Linked DNA regions of Homo sapiens: regions 2 and 3 are each linked to region 1. The links are contacts of gene promoters, found by promoter capture Hi-C in human tissues and cell types (Jung and others, 2019). All regions are on one chromosome and are shown on one strand. The core of a region is centred on a gene start or on the middle of the fragment in contact, and the rest is flanking DNA. Distances in the headings are between cores, read along the strand shown.

Region 1 (2,700 bases), core at 149-2,648:
TAAAAATTTCCCTATCAGAACCTTTCACAGGCAAAGTGACTTAATCTTCCCCTGCTTCATGGATCTAGTAATTCCAAATTTTCATATATTTAGCTTTAGTGGCACAAAATTATATTCCCAAATGTTTATTCATTCAACAAATACTTACTGAGGGCCCTGTAATTCCGTAATTTCACCACCCACCGATAGCCTCTCCTCCTGGCACTCACCTTCTAGACCTTGAGCTCTTTGTCCCTTGCACAGTGGCAGAGTGATTACTGGGTAGGTATATTTAAGAAAGGCTGGAAGACTCCTTCCAATCCATTGTCCTCGGGCATTATTTACTTGCTCACAGTTTTTGTATTCAGTACACCAAGAGAGGAACACAGTATGTCCATGCACTCTCTTACTGCAAAGGAATTAATTATTCCCCAGAGAAAAGTTTTGAAATGAGGGGGAAATGCGAATGTTTTCATTTCAAGCGCTTGTTTTAAATGTTAAGAGTATAATTAGTGTCTTCTAAAGAAACTAAATTTACTTTTTCTTGTAGAAGCAAGTTTTGCTCTTCACGCACACAAAAAGCCTCGCTTTATTTCATTTTTTCGTTGTAATGCCAAGTTTGGTTAAAAGGGCAATGAAAAGTTTTCTCGTTCGCACTGACTCAGGGTAGTTCTCAATTCTGAAGACAGAGAAGATCATCAAGCCACAATTGTTCAATCTTTAGTTTCAATCCCCAACAGATAATCGTTAAAGGTTAACTATACTATAGACGTCTTCATCAAGCTGCTGCGGCTTTTCTTCTACTTTGAAAACCACAAGTAAACAAGTCGGCTTCCTGTGCTTTTTGGAAAGAAAGATCAGGATTTAACTCATTTTATTGCTTCAGATAATGGTGTGGTTCCCAGATAAGAGGTGCTACATCCAGGGGCGGTGAACTCGATTATGAAGGGTGGAGTTCGTGCTGGATTCTATGATTTTTTAAATCTTGTAAACCGCACGCAGCAATGAAAGTGCTAAACGCCATGGTGCGTGACCCGCGCCACCCTCACGCTGCTCTCCTTTACCCCCCAGACTCCACTTTTCCTCCGCCACCACGAAAATTCTTGCAAATCAGACAGCTAACCCCGGGGCAATACGAACCATTTTCGCGCCACTCGCTCAGGACCGCGCAGCTGCACAAGGAGAGTGGTCCCCGTAGCCCCTAAAGCCCCCCTTTCTCAAAGGGGATTTTAGGAGTGCCCAAGGCTATCCTTTGAGGTCAGAATATATAGGGGGGTCGTGTTTTTTCCAGGGGGCCACCTAGTCTTGCGCCATGTCTGGCCGTTACCACAGCTTGCAGGACCTGTGTCCCAACGCGGGAAAGACAGCCCGAGCCCCGCCCCTCCGGGCCCGGGTCGGCGCGCCCAGCCTGCCAGCCGCGCTGCTGCTGCTCCTCCTGCTGTGGGACCGCTGACCGCGCGGCTGCTCCGCTCTCCCCGCTCCAAGCGCCGATCTGGGCACCCGCCACCAGCATGGACGCTCGCCGCGTGCCGGTGAGGGCTGGGCGGGCGAACCCGAGGGGCGGGCGCGGTGGGTGCTGGACGCAGGCGGGCGCGGGCCGACCCTCTCCAACTCCGCAGCCTAGCGCTGCCTTAACTGGTGGCCTGCCTAGGCGTTGCCCGCTTGGGCAAGCCCCTGATTTTGTGCACCTGGGATAACTGAGGGCCATGGGGACGTTCCTGCGTGGCGTGCGCACCCGAAGTGCGGGCGGCGTGGAGACTTGAGTCGTTTGCAGGATGGCTAGCAGCGCTGGAAAGCCCTAGGCACGTGCGTCCGCCAAAGGCCGGACAGCGGCCGGGAGCGCTGGCCGGTCCCGATTTTGCCTGCCAGGCAGAGCCAGCCTGCCTGCCCCCTGGGAGGTTGTCCCGCAGCGGCCCAGCCCTTTCCCGCACACAACTCGGAGCCAGTGCGTGGCTCGCCGCGTCTATACCCGCGCTCAGTGGGTGGCCCTTGGGCGCGCACCCCGCCCGGCAAGAGACGCGTCCGCTTCTAACCGCTGAGGGCCAGCGCGTCTGAGGTTTAAGGTCTTGCGAACCGGTCTCCTAGAACTTGGGCTGCGCACGCAGTGTGAAGCGACCGTAGTCCCGGGCGGTGGTTAAGTGCATTTAAAGGGCTTGGTGGGTCAAAGCGTTCGCCGACCATTTGCTCGTTTCCTACTTCCTCCACCCCAACCCCCAACCCCCCACCCCCCACCCCCCAGCCTTACTCTTAGCTGCAGGACGTTGCTCTGAGTGGAACGTTACTTTTTGCTCTAACGGAAGCCAGAACGTAGGGTCGGGCTCCTGGAGAGGGTAGAAGAGTGGGGGTTGGGTGAAACGGAAGACAATGACATGTTTAAAATAAATATCAGGGGTTAGGGACCCTCGCGGGGGTGGGTGCGATGGGGCGTGGTTTCAGAGCTGAGTCGCCGCCCCGGTGGAGCTGGGCATTGGCTTTCCGGATGAAGAAAACCATGTGTAGCTGGTCTTGGAACCTGACATGCCTGAGTTCAAATCTGAGCCACCATGGGACTTGAGTAATCCATTTCGCTTTCCTGAGCCTCAGTTTCCTCATTGGCTAAGTGAGAATAACGATAGCACCTTTGTTGCAAAGAATTAAACCTGACGTGAAAGTGTACTTAACATAGTGCCTGGCACGAAAAACGCCTACTATAAATGGTATTAGTTATTACTTACCTGCCAA
Region 2 (2,700 bases), core at 26-2,525, 1.0 Mb after region 1:
AGCCCAGGAGTTCCAGGCTGCAGTAAGCCCTGATCATACAACTGCACTCCAGCCTGGGTGAAAGAGCTAGACCTTGTCTCCAAAAAATAAAAATAAAAAAATCAAAGCTTTAATGAACATCCTTAATTAGATATGGCAATAATATCCTTTGGTCATTGAGTAAAACTCTTTATTTTTATATACTTAAAAGTGTTCTTTTTATTTTAAAACATCTGTATAATTTTTAGTTAAAAAAAATGGAACCTTTTTCCTGTGACACTTTCGTGGCATTACCTCCAGCAACAGTCGATAACAGGATTATTTTTGGAAAAAATTCAGATAGACTCTATGATGAAGTACAAGAGGTGGTTTATTTTCCTGCTGTAGTTCATGATAACCTGGGAGAACGTCTTAAGGTAGGTGAAATAAATGTTTTGTTAGCAATATGCCTTTTAAAAATATCATAAAGTTATTTCTATACATAGCAATTTGGAAGAAACTGTAGAAGTTAAAATTGAGGAGTTTACATTTGAAAAATAAATGAGTCAGAAATAAACTGTGATCTTTTATTTCAGTGATTCGGAGGACGTTGAAATAACAATAATAAAATTATCCATTGTTTGAATAAATATTTGAATGCTTTCCATATGCAAGCATGTTAGATAGGGCAAGAGATTTAAAGTCAGCTGTCAAGACTCTGTTCCAGGAGCTTAGAGTCTAGTATAGCAATAAGATGTGTATGCATTATACCCCATTATAAAATAGGATGGTTTAAATGCTAAATTTAAGTAACAGTAGCATGCTGTGGCAGCGGAAGAGAATGAACATTTAATTCAGCTTGGAGTTAGCTGGAATTTGATGGACAAAAAGGATTCTGATTCTGAATTGGCTTAGGTTCTACTTGATGTAGAATAGGAAAGTCATCCCAGACTTTAGGAATGACAGTTTTATGACACATCAAAAAAGGTTTATTAGGCCCTATGTTAACACTATCAATATACATTTTATGCAGTCACTTGGTAGTATACACATTAATTAAAGGATCCTTTAAAAACTTATTTTAAAAACCCATTTAATGTGGAACTTAAAATGAGAGCTTCAAATTATGCTATTGTTGCTAATTCATACTTTTTAGATTTTATTTTATTGATATTCTAATATTAAAACATATTAAATATTAGACTTTTTTCTGTATCCTATGCCATATTTTTTTCTTTTGCTAAGACCACTTATTCATCTGTGATACCACTTCCACTTTATTTCTTCATATTTAAATATAGCCTGTCCTGTAAACCAGTGGTTCTCATTCTTTTCATTGCTGTGGGCATACCTAATGGTTGACTTCAAAATGTGATGTGAGATTCCTATGACAAAACTCTTGTATTCGAAGGCTACCATGTGAGTAATTATATCACTAATCAAGAAACACTGGATATTGAGGTTGAGAACTACTTCCTTAAGCTTCAACTCACACATCTACAAAAATGTTTCAAGATATTACAGCTAGAGACCATCTTTCTCCTGAGCTCCAATAGCACCTTGTCTTCACTTCATGACCCTAATACTTTATACTTTATTTTATCTTAATGTAGAAGTTTTAGTTTCTCAAAAGTGAGATCTTTATCTGATTCATCTTTGTAACTAACATATCTCTTGGCAGAATGTTTTATAATAGGAAATGCTCAGCAAATATTTGAATGAATAAATATTTTAGGGTTATTCTGAATATGTTTTAAGGGTAATGCCTTTATTATTGAAAATTTCAATTTACTTATATTTCCTTTACCTCTTTCATAACAGTTTTGTCTTCTGACTGATTTTTTTAAATTCTGGATTTTGATAACTTTTCTGGTTTTGTGGTTCTTGCTATGACTTTTTTTTTTTTTTTTTTACAGTGTACATATATAGAAATTGATCAAGTTCCTGAAACATATGCTGTTGTCCTGAGTCGCCCAGCGTGGTTGTGGGGGGCAGAAATGGGAGCCAATGAGCATGGAGTTTGCATTGGGAATGAAGCTGTATGGGGAAGAGAAGAAGTTTGTGATGAAGAAGCACTATTAGGAATGGACCTTGTCAGGTTATTTTTTGTTACATTTTATACTACAGACCTTGTCTAAATTTATAATTTTTGTGTAACTCTTACTTGTTTTATTTTCCTATTTTTGAGGGGGCTTTGATACTTTGCAGTTTGTGTCAAAATGGTTTAAAGTACCGGCATGCAATTTCATGACTCTCAGTTTTGTTTGGTTTTTTAAAATTAATTAATTTTTATTTTTTTGAGATGAGATCTCACTGTGTCATGCAGGCTGGAGTATAATGGTGTGATCATGGCTCACTGTGCCCTTGAATTCCTGAGCTCAAGCAATCATCCCACCTAAGTCACCCAAGTAGCTTGGATCAAAGGCACGTGCCACCACACCTGGCTAATTTTTAATTAAAAAAAATTTTTTTTTCAGAGACTAGGGTCTTGCTATGTTGCTTATACTTGTCTTGAACTCCTGGCCTCTAGCCATTCTCCTGCCTCAGCTCCTGAGTAACTGGGATTACCAGCACAGGCACCATGCCCAGCTTTCAGATATTATTATTTGGGAGAAGGGAAGAAGTAGGAAATTATAATTCATTGGAAGTACCTAACATACTTTAATCACACCTTAACTAATTCTCACAATAACCTCATGGGCTATCGTGCTCATTTTACAAATGAGATATCTGAGGTTCAGA
Region 3 (2,700 bases), core at 104-2,603, 1.2 Mb after region 1:
CTCCCCACTTCCTGTCCATCATGTTAGGTCACATCATCCGGCTTTGCTCTCCTCTTGGCTCTGATCTCAACCCCAATATGTCTTGTTTACTGTTAACCCTCTGAGTACAAGCCCTCTGAGATTAGTGAGTCTGTCCCATTGGTTCACCCCTGTATTTCCAGGTCCTAGAATGTCCCAGCACATAAGAGGGACTCAATAGCTCTTTGTGGCATAAATGAACTAAACCATTCATAGATTTATTCTCTTTTGAAATAAAAAGGAATACACTGTCACAAAATGTATTCACTGTCACAAAATGCATTTGCCATGTGCCTATTCTCATGGTTTCACTTCTTAGGGTTTTGCCAAAGAATCTGCTCTTAGGGGTTGCATTAGGTTCACTGTCACAAAAATGCATTTGTATTCACAGTCACAAAAATGCATTTACCATGTGCTTATTCTCATGGTTTTACTTCTTAGGGTTTTGCCAAAAAATCTGCTCTTAGGGGTTGCATTAGGTTCCAATGGCTGCTATAACCAAGTGGCACAAAATGAGTAGCTTAAAACAACAGAAATGTATTCTGTCACCATTCAGGAGGCCAGAAGTCCCAAATCAAAGTGTGGGTAAGCTTAGTTCCTCCTAGAAGCTCCGAGGGAGAAACCTCCTCATGCCTCTTTCTTAGCTTTTGGCGACCCGGCAATCCTTGGTGTTCCTTGCCTGGTGGGTGCATTGCTCCAATCTCTGCCTCCGTCTTCACATCACTTGCTTCTCTGTGTGTCTCTGTGCTTGCTGTTTTGACTCTTATAAAGACAATCATTAGATTTACGGTCCACTCTAATCCAGTGAGGTCTCGTCTTGATCCTTAACTAATAACATCAGCAGTAACTCTATTTCTATACAAAGTTGCATTCTGAGGTTCTGCATGGATATGCACTTTTCAGAGACACTACTTGCCCCACGCTAGAGCTTTAGAATACAACACAGAAACTTACAATCTACTCTTGCTGTAATGTAATGCACATACGTTGTTTTTTCGGTGGCCAGCAACCAAGAGCACCCTTCCCAGGAGTACCCCAATTTCCTATTGCATCTTCCAGTTGGAGGACAGTCTTGATCGGAATGTAACTCAATATTTCTCATCTCCTCTCTGCAACCAAGGAGCTACATGTGACCCAAAGTAAGACAACTGGACTCCTGGGATAACTTCTTTTCCCAAATGTATGCTATTTTATGTTTTGGCAAACTTTCAAGAGAGCTTTCATTCCATACTAAATTTCCTTTTTTTTTTAGAGAGAGAAGATCTCTGTCAGTCACTCAGACTGGAGTACAGTGGTGCGATCACCACTCACTGTATGCAGTTTTGAACTCCCTGGCTCAAGCAATCCTCCCACCTTAGCCTCCCAAGTAGCTGGTACTACAGATGTGCACCACCACGCCTGGCTAACTTATTTATTTATTTATCTGTAGAGACACTGTCTCACTATGTTGCCCAGGCTGGTCTCGAATTCCTGGACTCAAGTGATTCTCTTGCCTTGGCCTCCCAAAGTGCTGGGATTACAGGCATGAGCCACTGCACCTGGTCTCACATATTTTTAGTACTATAAATCTGTGAATGCCCAGCAAACATCAAGCAGACTGTACTCTTGGAACTTTTCATCTTGAGTGGAGGCGCATAAGGAATGGGAAAATATTGGAACACATATACTGGAGGAGCAGCACCCAGATAAGATCCTTCAGTTGTTCATGCTGCCTGGACTCCAGGAATTGCCTTCATTCCTGTCTTGTGTCCTGATTTGGCTCTCCAGCCTCCCATCTATCCTGAGTTCCTAGCTAGCACCCTGTTAAAAGTCTCTTTTTGCTTCTGTTAGTCAGAATCCATTTCCATCATTTGCATCCAAAGACATTCAACTATTACACCGAGATCCAAGATTTTTTTCAGCACTGTCGCTGTTTTGCATATTTAGCTCTGAGTTCTGACATGCTGAGTTTACTACTATATGAGATACTACCTTCAAAATGTCAATTTCATCCAAACCCACACATTAGTGCAATTACAAGACAGTACATTAGCATTATTATTAATTTATTTATAACCCAGCTTGTTCCAAAAGGATTTCATTGTGTTAAATTATCCTACAGAGGTATGGCAAGAAAAAAAACATTTAAAATAAGGAACAAAAATGAAACAAAGGAAGAATAAGAGGTAGAAAAGTGAGATGAAGCCACAAGAGAACCTAATCCATAAAAATGGTTACTGCCAAGGCTAGACAATAGGTAGGGGAAAGATGCAGTATCGTGAAAAGGTCTGCAGGCTACAGTTGTTGCCATGGTATTTGGCAACAATATTTTCTATTTTTCATAGTTCCTTCTCAACCTGAATTTCTGTTAAAAGCTTGCAATCTCTCGACATTGAAATGGGACCATGAGATAATTAAGCAGTTGCCAAATGGGAACTAACTGAATAACAGAAAAGAATACATTTGCTTAAAGTCTTTACGTTATTACTTTAAAGATGGTAAAAACCCTGAGATATCTGCTTTAATCTTCATCTCTCTTTCTTTCTCTTTCTTTTGTTTTTTTTGGTTAATATTAGTCAAAACCTGGAAGCTGCAGTGCCTTATTTCAAGTTATGATTTTTTAAATTTTGCTTTTCACAATAGATGGACCTTGAAAAATTTATTCTGTTATCTGTTTTTACAAATTCAAACACTCTAAATGGA

The links. The method cuts DNA at HindIII sites, captures the fragments that hold promoters and counts their contacts. A contact is called where the count stands out against the background at its distance.
Region 2: a contact is called between a fragment that was not itself captured here and the fragment with the promoter of CDCA7 in region 1, in 1 of the 25 tissues and cell types used here (lymphoblastoid cells).
Region 3: a fragment that was not itself captured here is called in contact with the fragment with the promoter of CDCA7 in region 1 in 1 of the 25 tissues and cell types used here (lymphoblastoid cells).

What each region holds. Positions count from the first base shown.
Region 1 is chr2:173,353,474-173,356,173 of GRCh38, forward strand. CDCA7 (cell division cycle associated 7) reads left to right here and starts at 1,399. Exons shown (of 10, transcript NM_031942.5): 1 at 1,399-1,511. The coding sequence starts at 1,491. RefSeq lists enhancers at 443-1,398, 701-790 and a silencer at 1,341-1,610. The HindIII fragment of the contact is 8,581 bases long and covers 1-2,700 here.
Region 2 is chr2:174,398,048-174,400,747 of GRCh38, forward strand. SCRN3 (secernin 3) reads left to right here. Exons shown (of 8, transcript NM_024583.5): 2 at 228-395; 3 at 1,875-2,056. The coding sequence starts at 237. Among named protein-coding and RNA genes, the nearest start is that of SCRN3, 3.7 kb to the left of the region's middle. The HindIII fragment of the contact is 4,447 bases long and covers 1-2,700 here.
Region 3 is chr2:174,519,705-174,522,404 of GRCh38, forward strand. LOC124906097 (a long non-coding RNA gene) reads right to left here. Exons shown (of 3, transcript XR_007087309.1): 3 at 1,519-2,700. Among named protein-coding and RNA genes, the nearest start is that of GPR155-DT, 34 kb to the left of the region's middle. The HindIII fragment of the contact is 3,674 bases long and covers 1-2,700 here.